Regions from separate parts of the Homo sapiens genome. Here region 1 is linked to region 2. The links are contacts of gene promoters, found by promoter capture Hi-C in blood cells and fetal thymus (Javierre and others, 2016). All regions are on one chromosome and are shown on one strand. The core of a region is centred on a gene start or on the middle of the fragment in contact, and the rest is flanking DNA. Distances in the headings are between cores, read along the strand shown.

Evidence for each region. The method cuts DNA at HindIII sites, captures the fragments that hold promoters and counts their contacts. A CHiCAGO score of 5 or more calls a contact.
Region 1: a contact is called between a fragment that was not itself captured here and the fragment with the promoter of SLC25A40 in region 2, in 1 of 17 cell types (M2 macrophages). The highest score is 5.6, in M2 macrophages.

The regions. Positions count from the first base shown.
Region 1 is chr7:90,403,576-90,409,886 of GRCh38, reverse strand. CLDN12 (claudin 12) reads right to left here. Exons shown (of 4, transcript NM_001185072.3): 2 at 4,279-4,368. Among named protein-coding and RNA genes, the nearest start is that of CLDN12, 3.3 kb to the right of the region's middle. RefSeq lists an enhancer at 5,721-6,246. The HindIII fragment of the contact is 5,522 bases long and covers 291-5,812 here.
Region 2 is chr7:87,872,543-87,878,823 of GRCh38, reverse strand. It overlaps SLC25A40 (solute carrier family 25 member 40), which reads left to right and starts at 2,464. Exons shown (of 12, transcript NM_018843.4): 1 at 2,464-2,728. It overlaps DBF4 (DBF4-CDC7 kinase regulatory subunit), which reads right to left and starts at 2,331. Exons shown (of 12, transcript NM_006716.4): 1 at 2,046-2,331; 2 at 599-771. The coding sequence starts at 2,091. RefSeq lists enhancers at 2,052-2,171, 2,359-2,868 and silencers at 2,232-2,491, 2,622-3,071. The HindIII fragment of the contact is 3,397 bases long and covers 492-3,888 here.

The DNA of each region.
Region 1 (6,311 bases), core at 1,802-4,301, 2.5 Mb before region 2:
GCCCTGGAAAGACACCAAGACCACTGATAACTGGACCTTGCTCCCAATGTGTTTATAGAGACTTGTGGAAAGAAACGGCTGTCTTATGTAAACTCAAAGTGTTGGTGGTGAATCAACTGTATAATTACTACGTATCAAGTGATTATTGTTAGGTGTTAAGCAAAGTGAATAAGGTACCTGTTCATAAAAATTTATCAGGCAGGAGTTAAAGACTGAGAAATGAAGGAGAATAAGGATTTGATTAAAGTTGTGAAGACATAGGAAAAAGGTTCCCTCGTTTCTTTCAAGCTTCAGAAGTCTTCAGATAACCCACTCAAAGTCCTAATGCAATCACAATTCCTTCTTGCTTTCAGAAGTAATATACTGGCTGGGCGAATTGGCTCATGCCTGAAATCCCAGCACTTTGGGAGGCCAAGGCTGGTAGATCACTTGAGGTCAGGAGTTTCAGACCAGCCTGGTCAACATGGTGAAACCCCATCTCTACTAAAAATACAAAAACTAGCCAGGCATGGTGGCACGTGCCTGTAATCCCTGCTACTCAAGAGGCTGAGGCAGGAGAATCGCTTGAACCCAGGAGGTGGAGGTTGCAGTGAGCCAGATCACACCACTGCACTCCAGTCTGGGTGACAGAGCACGAGACTCTGTCTCAAAACAAACAAACAAACAAACAAACAGGAACAAAAAACAAAAGTAGTATAGAAATAATTGGAATTTCAATGTAATTGAGATTTCTCCAATCAAACTGCCCTGTAACACTGATTCCTGAAATGTAAATGGAGTGAGAAACAAGATCAGGATGTATAACTCCATTATTAATAAATTCCAGGCCAGGTGCTGTGGCTCATGCCTGTAATTCCAGCACTTGGGGAGGCTGCGGTGGGAGGATAGCTTGAGCCCAGGAGTTTGAGACCAGATTGGGCAACATAGCGAGACCCCATCTCTACAAAAAAAAGAAAAATTAATTATTAAGAAAAATAAATAAATTCCTATAATTCTTAGCCTATAGACTATCAAATGACATTAATGAAGAGAGGTACGACAATATATATTTCAGTAGTAAGTGCTTTTAACTATATTCTGCATCAAATCAATACAAATATTATATTGGTTCTCTGAAATTGCCTTTGATGAAGCATTCTTAGCTCAGATCTCAGGGATGGACAGAGGCCTATCTATACAGAGTCAACAAGGATACCACGGCACTTTTTCAGAAGGGAAGTACTATTAACCTTAATTCTTAAGCTAAATTTTGGCCTGATACTGGAATTAATGTCTAGCTTCTTTTGGCTACTTCACCTTGTATGCCCTGTTCTTAATTTCAAATGCCTATGATTTGATAAGTCATATATCCCACCAGAGAGATAAAGTAATTTCTTTTAAGACAGGGTCTTACTCTATCACCCAAGCTGGAGTGCAGGGCATGATCACAGCTCACTAGATTTCAGTGAGCTGAGATCCTGGGCTCAAGTAATCCTCCTGCCTCAGCCTCCTGAGTAGCTGGGATAACAGGTGCATGCCACCATGCCAGACTAATTTTTAAGTTTTCCCTAGAGATGGGGTCTTGCTGTGTTGCCCAGGCTGGTCTTGAACTCTTGGGCTCAAGCAATCCCCCCACCTCCACCTTTCAAAGGGCTGGGATTACAAAAGTAAGCCACCATGCCTGAAGTAAAATTTTATAGGATAGTTTGGGGAAAGAATATGTTTGATGTTTTAAAACAAAGATAATGCTGACTTCCCGATTAGGATTTGTTCATACTTGCAAGGGTAAAAAGACCTCTACTCTTGTGCTGTGTCAATTAGTTTTAATCCACAATAATTTTTTTCAAATGCAAACCTCATCCGCCATTCCATTTCTTACCATTCAATAAGTTCCCATTTCCCACAGAATAAAATCTCTAAAGTTTCAACTCCTCCCCATAGCTTACACCACCTGATTCCTACCAAATTCTCAACCTTCGTATGTGCCACTCTCCCACCCCACACACTACAGTCTATGCAGCCAAACCACATTTCTTTTGACTTCCCAAATTTTCCACTTTCTGATTTGGTTAAGGGCCTTCCCTCATGGTCTTTCTCCTAGAACTTTCTTAATTCCAACCTATTCTTTGCTTGGCTAATATTTACTCATTCTTCTAGTGTCCAGGGAGGCTTGTCCTAAACCTCCCCCTGTCCCTGGTTATATGCTGTGGTAGCACTTTTGCACTTTTTCTTCTGTAGCAGTGATCATTCTTATAACTCCTTGTTCAGTGTAGTTTTCTTTCCCATCAGACTGTGAATTCCAGGGACAGAGATCCCTTTGTTTTGTTCACTGTTCCCTATACTGGCACATAAAAGGCACTCGATTATTTGCTGAATGAATGAACAAACAAATGGAGGTTCTGTATAACTCTGGTCAGAATACAGACAGAAATTTAGTCTCAGTTCCATTCACTTCATTTGAGAGAATTCACACCACCCTGTGTTCTGATACATCCAGACTGTTTCTAGACTGTGCCCCTGCTTTCTCCTTTTTGGCCAAAAGACTCCCATTTTACAAAACAACATTCATTTTCTTACCCCAGAAACCTGTGATTAGCAAAGACAAGGCCATCCTTAGGTACCTACATGCAGACTATGATTCTAGAAATATATATCTAGGTTTAGCAACACTGTCTAACTTCAACAAATGGTTTGAAAGTCAATTATTCCTGGCGCGGCGTGGTGGCTCATGCCTGTAATCCCAGCACTTTGGGAGGCCGAGGTGGGTGGATCACGAGGTCAGGAGTTTGAGACTAGCCTGGCCAATATGGTGAAACCCCGAGACTCCATTTCAAAAACAAAAAGTCCACTGTTCCGGTATTGATTTTTCTGTTTTCAACTTAACAGGTATGTCATGAATTAGACATACTTCTCTTAAGAGTGGTTAATATATCAAATTAATATTTATTAAAGCTAAACAATATATAGTTTTTTTAATGGAGAAAAAAAAACATCTTTTTGCCATGTGAAAATCCCTAATTAGGGACTGTGGAAAACGTGCAAGGCTAAGAACACTTTAACAAATCTGTCAAGCAGTCATGAGTACTAGCTGGATGAGAGCTTTGAGCTAGGTCATACATACACATAAGTGGTTTGTTGTTTCCATCCAGGAGGCTGCTTGGTATTGTTGTCCAGGAGACCAAAGACCTGAATAACATTCATAACCTATCATTTACAAACTGGACAAGTCACTTATGTCCTCTGAACCTCCAATTTTTCATCTGTAAAGTGTCCCACAAAGTAGTAAAATCATGAATAGCAAAGTCCTTTGTAAACCAGAATATGGTCAGAAATGTAAGTCAGTAATGATTATTAGCAGGCTTATTTACTTTTTTCAGCTAGAAACATACTTTTCTTCTGGACCCTCAGCAAATGACTACAGATGGTTATAGTCATATAACAAGAAGGACAGAACATTCTCTTTGGAGATACTGACCAAATCAAATAGAGACTCTATTTCAAATAACCACTTCACATTTGTCATTTGACTCTCTGTTCCACCGTGACTCAGAAAAGTAGATAAAATTTGATACACAATTAAATGTTATCAGAGACATAATTACGAATAAAAATATTTTCAAATTATATATTTTCTGTGGTTTTGAATAGAATTTAAAGAAGGCTGGAGCAGGAACAGTGGCTAAGAGCTTTAGGAAGTCATGTATCCAATAGACCCTGTACTATTTTTTCCAGGCACAATTCTGAGTTATAGTTACAAGAGTTACGAGAGTACATATGTCTAATAGCAGCTAGCTTCTATTTTTTTGAGACAGGGTCTCGCTTTCTCACCCAGGCTGGAGCACAGTGGTGCAATCATGGCTCACTGCAGCCTCGACCTCCGAGGCTCAAGCAATCCTCCCACCTCAGCTTCCAGAGTAGCTGGGACTATAGGCATGTACCACCACAACTGGCTAATTTTTTAAAATTTTCTCATACAGTCAGGATCTCGCTATGTTGCCCAGGATGGTCTCAAACTCCTGGGCTCAAGGGATCCTTCCACCTCAGCCTCTCAAAGCGCTAGGGTTACAGGGCTGAGCCACCATGCCCAGCCCTAACTTAATTCTTGATGGTAACATTGAGAGTTCCTTCTACCTATAATTTGGGTTTTCTTAGAAACTGTAAGTCATCAGTCATTGTACTCACAAGAGAGGTCTGTCCTATACCTCTATTTTGTTGAACAAGAGAAAAAAAAAGAGTCATTGTTGGCAGATGTGGTAGCAGGAGGGAGGGAAATAAGATATAATTAAAGGACGTACTTACGCTTTGAGGTACCTGACAGTTCCAAAACAGCTTTATTCAGCTTAGAAGAGACACATGAAGATCTGAATACAGAGTAGCAATAATCTGAGCCTAAAGAAATAGGAAAAATACTCCAAATTAACATAGTACTTCTCTAAAAACCCTGCTTGAATTCCCATGGATTAGAAGAAATGATTAGTAATCACCTAAAACCAATGAAATGTTATACTAAAAAGGGCAGACAGTAAGTTTTTTAAAAAGGCAGTTTAGCAGGGGCACAGTGGCTTACACCTGTAATCCCAACACTTTGGGAAGCTGAGGCGGGATGATCACTTGAGCCCGAGTTCAAGACCAGCCTGGCCAACATGGCAAAACCCCATCTCTCCTAAAAATACAAAAATTAGCTGGGCATGGTGGCTCATGCCTATAGTCCCAGCCATGTGGGAGGTTAAGGCACAAGAACCGCTTGAACCTGGGAGGTGGAGGTTACCGTGAGCTGAGATTGCACCACTGCACTCCAGTGTTGGTGACAGAGAGAGATTCTGGCTCAAAAAATAATAATAATAATAATTAGCCAGGTGTGATGGTGCACACGTGTTGTCCCAGTTTCTTGGGAGGCTGACATGGAAGGATCACTTGAGCCCAGGAGTTTGAGGACACAGTGAGTCATGATCATGCCACTGCACTCCAGCCTGGATGACATAGCAATGATCTGTCTCAAATAATAAAAAAAAAAAAATAAAAAGGCTGTTTATTCCTTAATTCATGCATTATATATGAGAAATATATAGAATATAGAAAAATACGTAGAAATAGAAGAAAAAAATTAACTCATCTTGTGACTTGAGAATATAGGAGAAATGAGGATGAAAAACACTTTGCTGTCTTGGGAATATATGATTGATATTTAATGAATGTTTTAGATCATTTTCATGACTACGGTGAAAGGATAAGGAAGGTGGTGAAAGACTGTGCAGTTGTCTTGGAAGTAAAAGAAATTTTCTTTTACATTTTTAAAAAAGGACACTGACAACAAGACCAGACAAAGTTGATCTGAATTCTGCATCCTGAAATTTGCAACCAGAATGCTTAAAAAAAAAATAGTTCCACCAATGGCTCAACCTGATACTTAAAGATGCTTCTATATATCTACTTTAAACATTAGCCACTTCCTCTTCAAATACCATTTATCTCAAACAGGTAGGATGAGAATGGAAACTCATTATTATGTGCGCCTGAGAGTTTCCTGGATTGAGGCGTTCATCACTAGCCCTATTACGATCATTATGTAGAATGCTCTCTGCAACTGGCTGCTCGGAGATTTCAGTCAAGTCCCCCCCAACCCCTCCCCCGCCCCAAATGTGTTTCTTGGGTTGGTATCAATCATAATTGCACACTCCAAAGTCAGAGGAAATCGTTTTACAATTAATAACGCACAATAGAATCCTTGAGCAATCATTTTAAGTGAGGTCACCAAGTCTGACCTTTCCCTAACGTGGCTATGGGCCCCTTACAAGGCCGGGTGCACAGAACTTACAGGAAAGCAAACCAAGCTTCCAGAGCAATCCGCATCCCCCTCCGCCCCCCTCCTCCCCCCTCCGCCTCCTCTCCTCCTCCCTCTTTTCGAAGAGCCCTGTGTGTGGTAGACCCAGACCTGGCAGAAGGAAGAAAACGCCCTACTAGTTAGAGCCAATGGAGAGAGACCGCAACAGTGACTGTTAACGCTCTCAGAGCTAGCCCATCCCTGCAACACTGAGTGGGTTTGAACCGCAAGCAGGTCATCATTACGCAACCAGCATCAGCTGGTTATTCAAAAATAGCAGCTTGGGCTCCCCCACAAACCCGCGCCAGCAAAGCTCCCAGTCCTTGGCGGCTCCGGCAACACACCTCGACATTTCCATACTCCTGTGTACAAAATAATTTTTTAAAGCCTTACCAAATACCTACTCAATTTTCACATCCACAGATGTGGTCAGCGTTTTCCAACGCTCCTGATTCTCCTGGATTTAGCCATTTTACATAAAATCCTCAGTTACTTATGCAAAAGACCCAGA
Region 2 (6,281 bases), core at 1,215-3,714:
TCATTTGCCAAAATTCAGCCAATATCAACCTTAATCCTATTAAGGTCCTAGAATTTTGCCTGAGTTTTCTAATTTCCCAATCATCTAATCAGTGTATAAGGTAGGAAAGAAGGTATTCCAGATTCTTAATGCAAATTTCTTTTCCTTTAATAACATTCATTCTGTTGAAACAACATCTGTATCACTCAGGAACAATTTTAACTGTGGTTTGCATGGCTGTTCTGTAGTAACATTCTTAACTGTTACACTAGTCCAGACAAACTTATGTAGCTCCCCAAGATTCATAATCAAGAAATTGCTGTTATCTGGAGGACATTCCAACATTACAGTAAGCAGTCAATGAGCAGTTCCACTAGGACAGGGGAGTCTTACACTCTAAGAACTTTACACTAGACTGCTAATCAGAGAAACCTGAAAGGTCTGTCAGTCCACAAAAGGTTAAAACAAATGGTTTTTTGTTAACGATAAACAGCTGATAAAAATGTTAAGCTTGGTGCTAATAGAAGCGTTTTCCAAAATGAAAAATTTAAATGATTACACAGTAGAAAGTACTAGTTACAAATTTTTCCTTCTATGCCAGTGTACGGTTTTCACTTACCCCTCCCAGATCCTTAATGTCCTTTTGAAGTTTTTCAGATATGGTGACAGAAGGTAAGTCAAGGTAAAATACTTTTCCCCAAAGTGGCTTACATTTGGATTTTTCTGGCCTGTTATCAGTTTTCAGAGATTTCAGAGATGGTCTGTTTTTTTCATTTTTGACTTGGATTCCACCTATTAAAGATGTTTAGAATCAGATGTTTTACACAGACACTTTTACTATTTTTAAAATATTTCATTATACAATATTACAGAATAAAAATCCTTACAACCCTACCAGTTTAAGTTATTAGCATTGAAATGTATTTCTTTGTAGTACTACTTAGGATAGAGGCAAAATGCCCTATATACTTTCACAGACCGCATATTGTAAAATAATAGTTGACTCAGCAAGAAATATTCGTGTGTTTATTCCTGAGGCACGGAACTATATAAAACTCTTTTGAAAGATTTTCTTTTTTTAGGATGTAAACTCCATGGGGATATTTAATACTCAACTATTTATTGAGCATCTGCCATTCTGCTGAACATTCAAAACTGGTGTTTAAACTTCATTTAGCGATGAAAGAATCCTCTGTTACGCAGAATAACCTAGTCCTCAAGGGTTTCAGACTGCTCAAGTTTTAGTTTCATATAAAGTTTGTCTGCATATTAACAACTAAACGGTCCATTTCACATACAATTTGTCTACGTATTAAGAACTTAACGGTCCATTACGAAGAACTAAACCTTTCATTATTTTCATTAGAAACAGATCTGAGATCCAAGCAACTGCTTTAAAAATTAATTTTTCAAACGCAATCTGTTCTTAAATTGGTAGTTACTACACACACACAAACACCTGTACAAAAAACTTAGGTGCTGGAATGTTTCACCAAATAAAGTGACTGAAAATGGAAATTTGCTTTTGTTTCCCTGTTTGTAATGTTGAAACCAGCAATGGGGTGTTTGAAATACAATGCTTTCCCCCAACTTATGAGGAAAGGAAAATAAACTTTCAAGGGTAAGACCAAAAATCCACCCACAATCACTCAATCTAATCCTGAAGCGAAAAGCCACGAGCGCGTCTGACTTTAAATTGAGGATGCAGTCCGTCGCCTCCAAGGGCCCGGGCGGAGGCTTAGCATATGCGAGAGCCCGGGAGCAGACAGCGCCGCAGTCCCGGCGAGGTCCCGGATCTGCACATTGTTTGCTAGTTTTCAACCGAAGGCACGACCGGGAATCAATCTGGGACCGCCGCTGTAAACGGCAGAGCGCTCGAGGGGCCGGGTCAGGATCCGTTCCTTCTTAGGCAAAACACTGAACGGGGGCTCCTTCCTTCAGACCCCAGAGGCCGGTCAGAAGAAAAGAAGCTGAGGACCCGGCGGGAGAAGTCTGAAGAATCAATGGTGGAACCACGAGGGGAGGAAAGGATTAAAGGGACTGCAGGCGGAGGAGGGGCTTCTTACCCTGGAAATGTCCTTTACTGTGGATCCTCATGGCTCCGGAGTTCATGGCAGTCGCCCGGCACCTACATGCTGGGTCCGGAGAAAGTGTCGCACCGGGCAGCCGCGAAAGCACGGCTTCCCCCGGCCTGTTGACAGGACGGCCGCCTCTCTCCTTCCGCCAGCTACGGCCTCTACGCAGTAGAGGTACCGCGTCTGCAGGTCGGGTTTCCGGGGCCGGATCCGGCTCCAAGGCGCGGAGGAGGAAGGCGCAAAGCACAAACGAGTGGGCTGCGGCGGTTGAAGATTTGAAAACGCGTCACGCGGCCGCGGCGCCGATACGCGCGCCCCGCCCCGTCTCACGCCACGCGCCGTGCCCCGCCTCGCGCTCGCCCCTCGTGCCTGCCTTCTCGCGCTGCGCGCCCCGCCCCCTCACGCCGCCGTCCTTCTCGCGCCTCGCTCTGGCCCTGCAGGTTGTGTTTCCGCCTCTACCCCGCCTCCATTCCGTTGCTCTCTCAGTCTCAGACCCGGGCTCTCGGTCCGCCGCTTCAGGTCTTGGCGCAGCCTCAGAGAGTTGGCGCGGCTCTGTGTTGACCAAACCTAGTGGATGCAGTTAGCGCCGGAGCCCGGCCCCGCCCGTCACCAGGGTTATTCCCGCCTTCTAGGTTTGCCAGGACTGCCGGCCCTGCAGCTGCCTTCTGCCCCAGGTATGCTAATTTTCCACTGGTCGGACGTCTGGGAAGCTGAAGGCGAGGGGCTTTGGCTGAGTCCGGACTCAGCTCTGGCCGGGCCCGGGGCCGGGGCCGGAACCGGAGCCGGACAGCGGCGGCAGCCGCAGCCCCTGCTCAGCGCGCCCTGGGTCGCACAGCAAGCGGGGTTTTCCCGCGGTCACTGCCGACCCCACCGGCTGAGGACAGCTGCAGAGGGACGTGCGGGAGTGAGGGCGGCCCCGGGGGGCGTCTGAGGGAGGGTCTGGCCAGGCGGCCCCGGCCTTGACGGCAGCGCCACCGCAGAACGCCTCCAGGTCACTTTGTGTCCTTGGGTAGTTGGCTATTTGCGCTGTCCTGTTGACTTTTATTGTATTCAGACCTGTTTTCTTTTAGTTGAGTGTAAGTTTATTTCAACAATGAAGGAGTGGAAAGTAACATCTCATTTTTTTTTCCTGTAAAACAGAGATTAAAGATCAAATTAAAATGCTTGTGAATATATTTTAATTTTATAAGTTGGAACATGCCTCTCCAAAAAAAAAAAAAAATCTGTTTCTTCAGGAGGAAGAGGATATTTTGAACTATTTTGCATTCCTCTACTCCAGGCCATAATAGGCACTCCTGTAGTGGTTGATTTTTTTACCTGGTAGCTCAAGGAAGTCAGAGTATCAGCGTTACGGTTTTGCAGGTAGGTACCTTAAAGAATAGACAAGGGTGGGTTGTGACAAGATTAGCTGGAGAACGCAGAGAACAGGTTTGCTAAGGGAAATGAGAGTTTGGTTTTAGACAGGTTTATGTTGAAGGGCCTGGGGCGACAGTCATGGAACTATGCTTATTAGACAGTTAAAGATGTTTATGACTCGAGAGAAATGTCTAGCAGAAGTGGACATGGGAAGAGGAAATAGAGATTGATTTGATATCTCTCCAATAAAATATTTCTGCATCAAGGTCTATTGATGTCAATCATGGGGCAATTCATTAGAGGTTAACAGATCTTGAGTGGTGGAAGGAAGTGTAGTTTGAACAAACATATTCAATATTGTAATTTCTATGGGAAAAAACTTATTTTCAAAATATAAGCTACAGAGAGCACAAAATGTTTATATTTACAGAAAGATTTAAAAAGTTGGGAAGCACTAATATAGAATGTAGTTAAAGCTTTGGGAGGAAATGAAATTGCCAAGGAGAGCATGTGAAATAAGAGAATTGATTATAAGCGTCGTTGATGAAATAGTGAAAGAGATGGAGAAAATGCCACAGAATTGGGAAGAGACTGCAAACATTGGAATCATATGGGCTTCACTAACTACTTGGCCTCTGGGTAATTTTGAGCCCCAATTTTAATCTATTAAAAGGGGGTAGTACTTCTCAGGGATGTTGTGAAGATTAAATGAACATTTTTGAATGCTTAGTACAGTGCCTGGCACAGAGTAGAGCTCCTTAAGAGCTCCATAATTACTATCATTCTAGTGAACACTGCACCAGTTCCTTCATCCCCAGGACAGATAAGGTTAAGACTTGAAAAATAAGTATTTGATTTTGGCGTTTCAGGTATCCTTGGTTTCCTTAAGGGTAATTTGAGTAGGTGGCAGAGATAAGTACAGTACTAGATAAAAATTATAATCTTGAAGTTCAGACAGGTTGAGTGTACTCTTTCAAAAAAATTTGTTATTGTAGGAAAGTATAATGAAGGGAAGACTGGATCTTTGGAAGGTTTAGAGGATGTGGGAAAGATTTTTAAGCATGCTTCTATTGAGGAACTTTTTTTTAAAAAAGGAAGTCCCATTTTATGGTCTTGTGAAAGATGAATTGTGTGTCTTATTTGCCGTGAAGAGGAAGGACAGTAACATAGTTGCACCCTATGCGGTTAGACTCACCCTCGACTGCACTGAAGATGGTAATTCCAAGCAATAAATAAGCAGGAAGTCCGCTTTATGCAATAGTTAGTAATTTTCTAATCTATTATCCAAGGTTAGTTTTTAAAATATTACTGGAACCTAAATCTGTTAGTAGCCACAGAAAGGATATGGCTGTAGTCAGTAAGGATAGAAACCTCCTTTTTATTGTCCAGTAATCAGGTCTGTTGGTAAGAGGGTAGGGTTTGTCTTAAAGTAGATCTTGAAAATATGCTTGAAAACATTTCTTCAGAGGAAGGGTAGACATTTAAGAAGAAGTGAATGGGGGCAGGGTTATTTATGGTGAGAAACTTTGTTCAAGAGTTATATTAGGCAAAATTGGAGAACATTGAGCAGAATCATGATCTAATTAAATGAATATGTGGCTGTGAATCAAGAGAAATGAATTTTATTCATTGCTGGCCCTGTCCCTAACTAGTTTTGTGACCATGGGCAAATGTTAACCTTTCTGGCTGGGCACGGTGGCTCAAGCCTATAATCCCAGCACTTTGGGAGGCCGAGGTGGCGGATCACGAGGTCAGAAGTTGGAGACCAGCCTGGCCAACATGGTGAAACTCTGGCTGTACTAACAATACAAAAATTAGCTGGGCATGGTGGTCCCCGCCTGTAACCCCAGCTACTCAGGAGGCTGAGGCAGGAGAATCACTTGAACCCAGAAGGCGGAGGTTGCAGTGAGCGGAAATTGCGCCACTGCACTCCAGCGTGGGCAACAGAGCGAGACTCCCTCTCAAAAAAAAAAAAAAAAAAAAAGTTAACCTTTCTATGCTAGAATTTACTTATCTATAAATGAAGATAATATTGTTCAGTCTACTCCACAACTTTTTGTGATTATCAGAGACCTAATCTGATCTTTCAGATTACCTCACACATACCCAAATATAAATTTTTTGTTCTAGAATCTAGACAAATTAATTTTGTAGTACTTATCACTTTTTTTTTCTTTCTTTTGCCTAAGCCTCTTCACCTGGCTCAGCAATTATTTTTTCCTGTCCATAGCAAACCTAGCTTAGATTCATCCTTTATCTCCTGCTCATTTGGGTATAATCATTCCTGTTTGATTCATTTGCCAACTATTGATATGTCGTCTTCTGAAATGTGTTCTGATCTATTTTTATTAATTTTCACATTTCATAGTCTCACTATCCTGGTGAATTGGAGGGCTTAAGGTTATATGTAAGGTTAAATTCTTAGTTTTGCAGGCTAAGTGCATGAAAGGATAGGATTGGTTAGTGGCTGTGGAACTGTAGTTAATGTCTCAGGTGACTGTGGGCTGGGAAACCAGGGTAAATTCAGCATTATCAGGCCCTTGAAGACATCCTAAGTGTGTTCACTTTAAATTACAGGCGCCTGCCACCATGCCCAGCTAATTTTTGTATTTTTAGTAGAGACAGGGTTTCACTGTGTTGGCCAGGCTGGTCTTGAACTCCTGACCTCAGATGATCCGCCAGCCTCGACCTCCCAAAGTGCTAGGATTACAAGCGTGAGCCACTGTGCCCAGCCTGCATTTAATTTGTTTATCTTGCTTTATTGTACTGGCTAAATTCTTCAGTACTTTGTTGAATAGAAATGATGAGAGTAGTAAATGGTTCTTATCAAACCGAGGAATTTCCCTTTCATTGAAAAGGATTGAAAGGCTT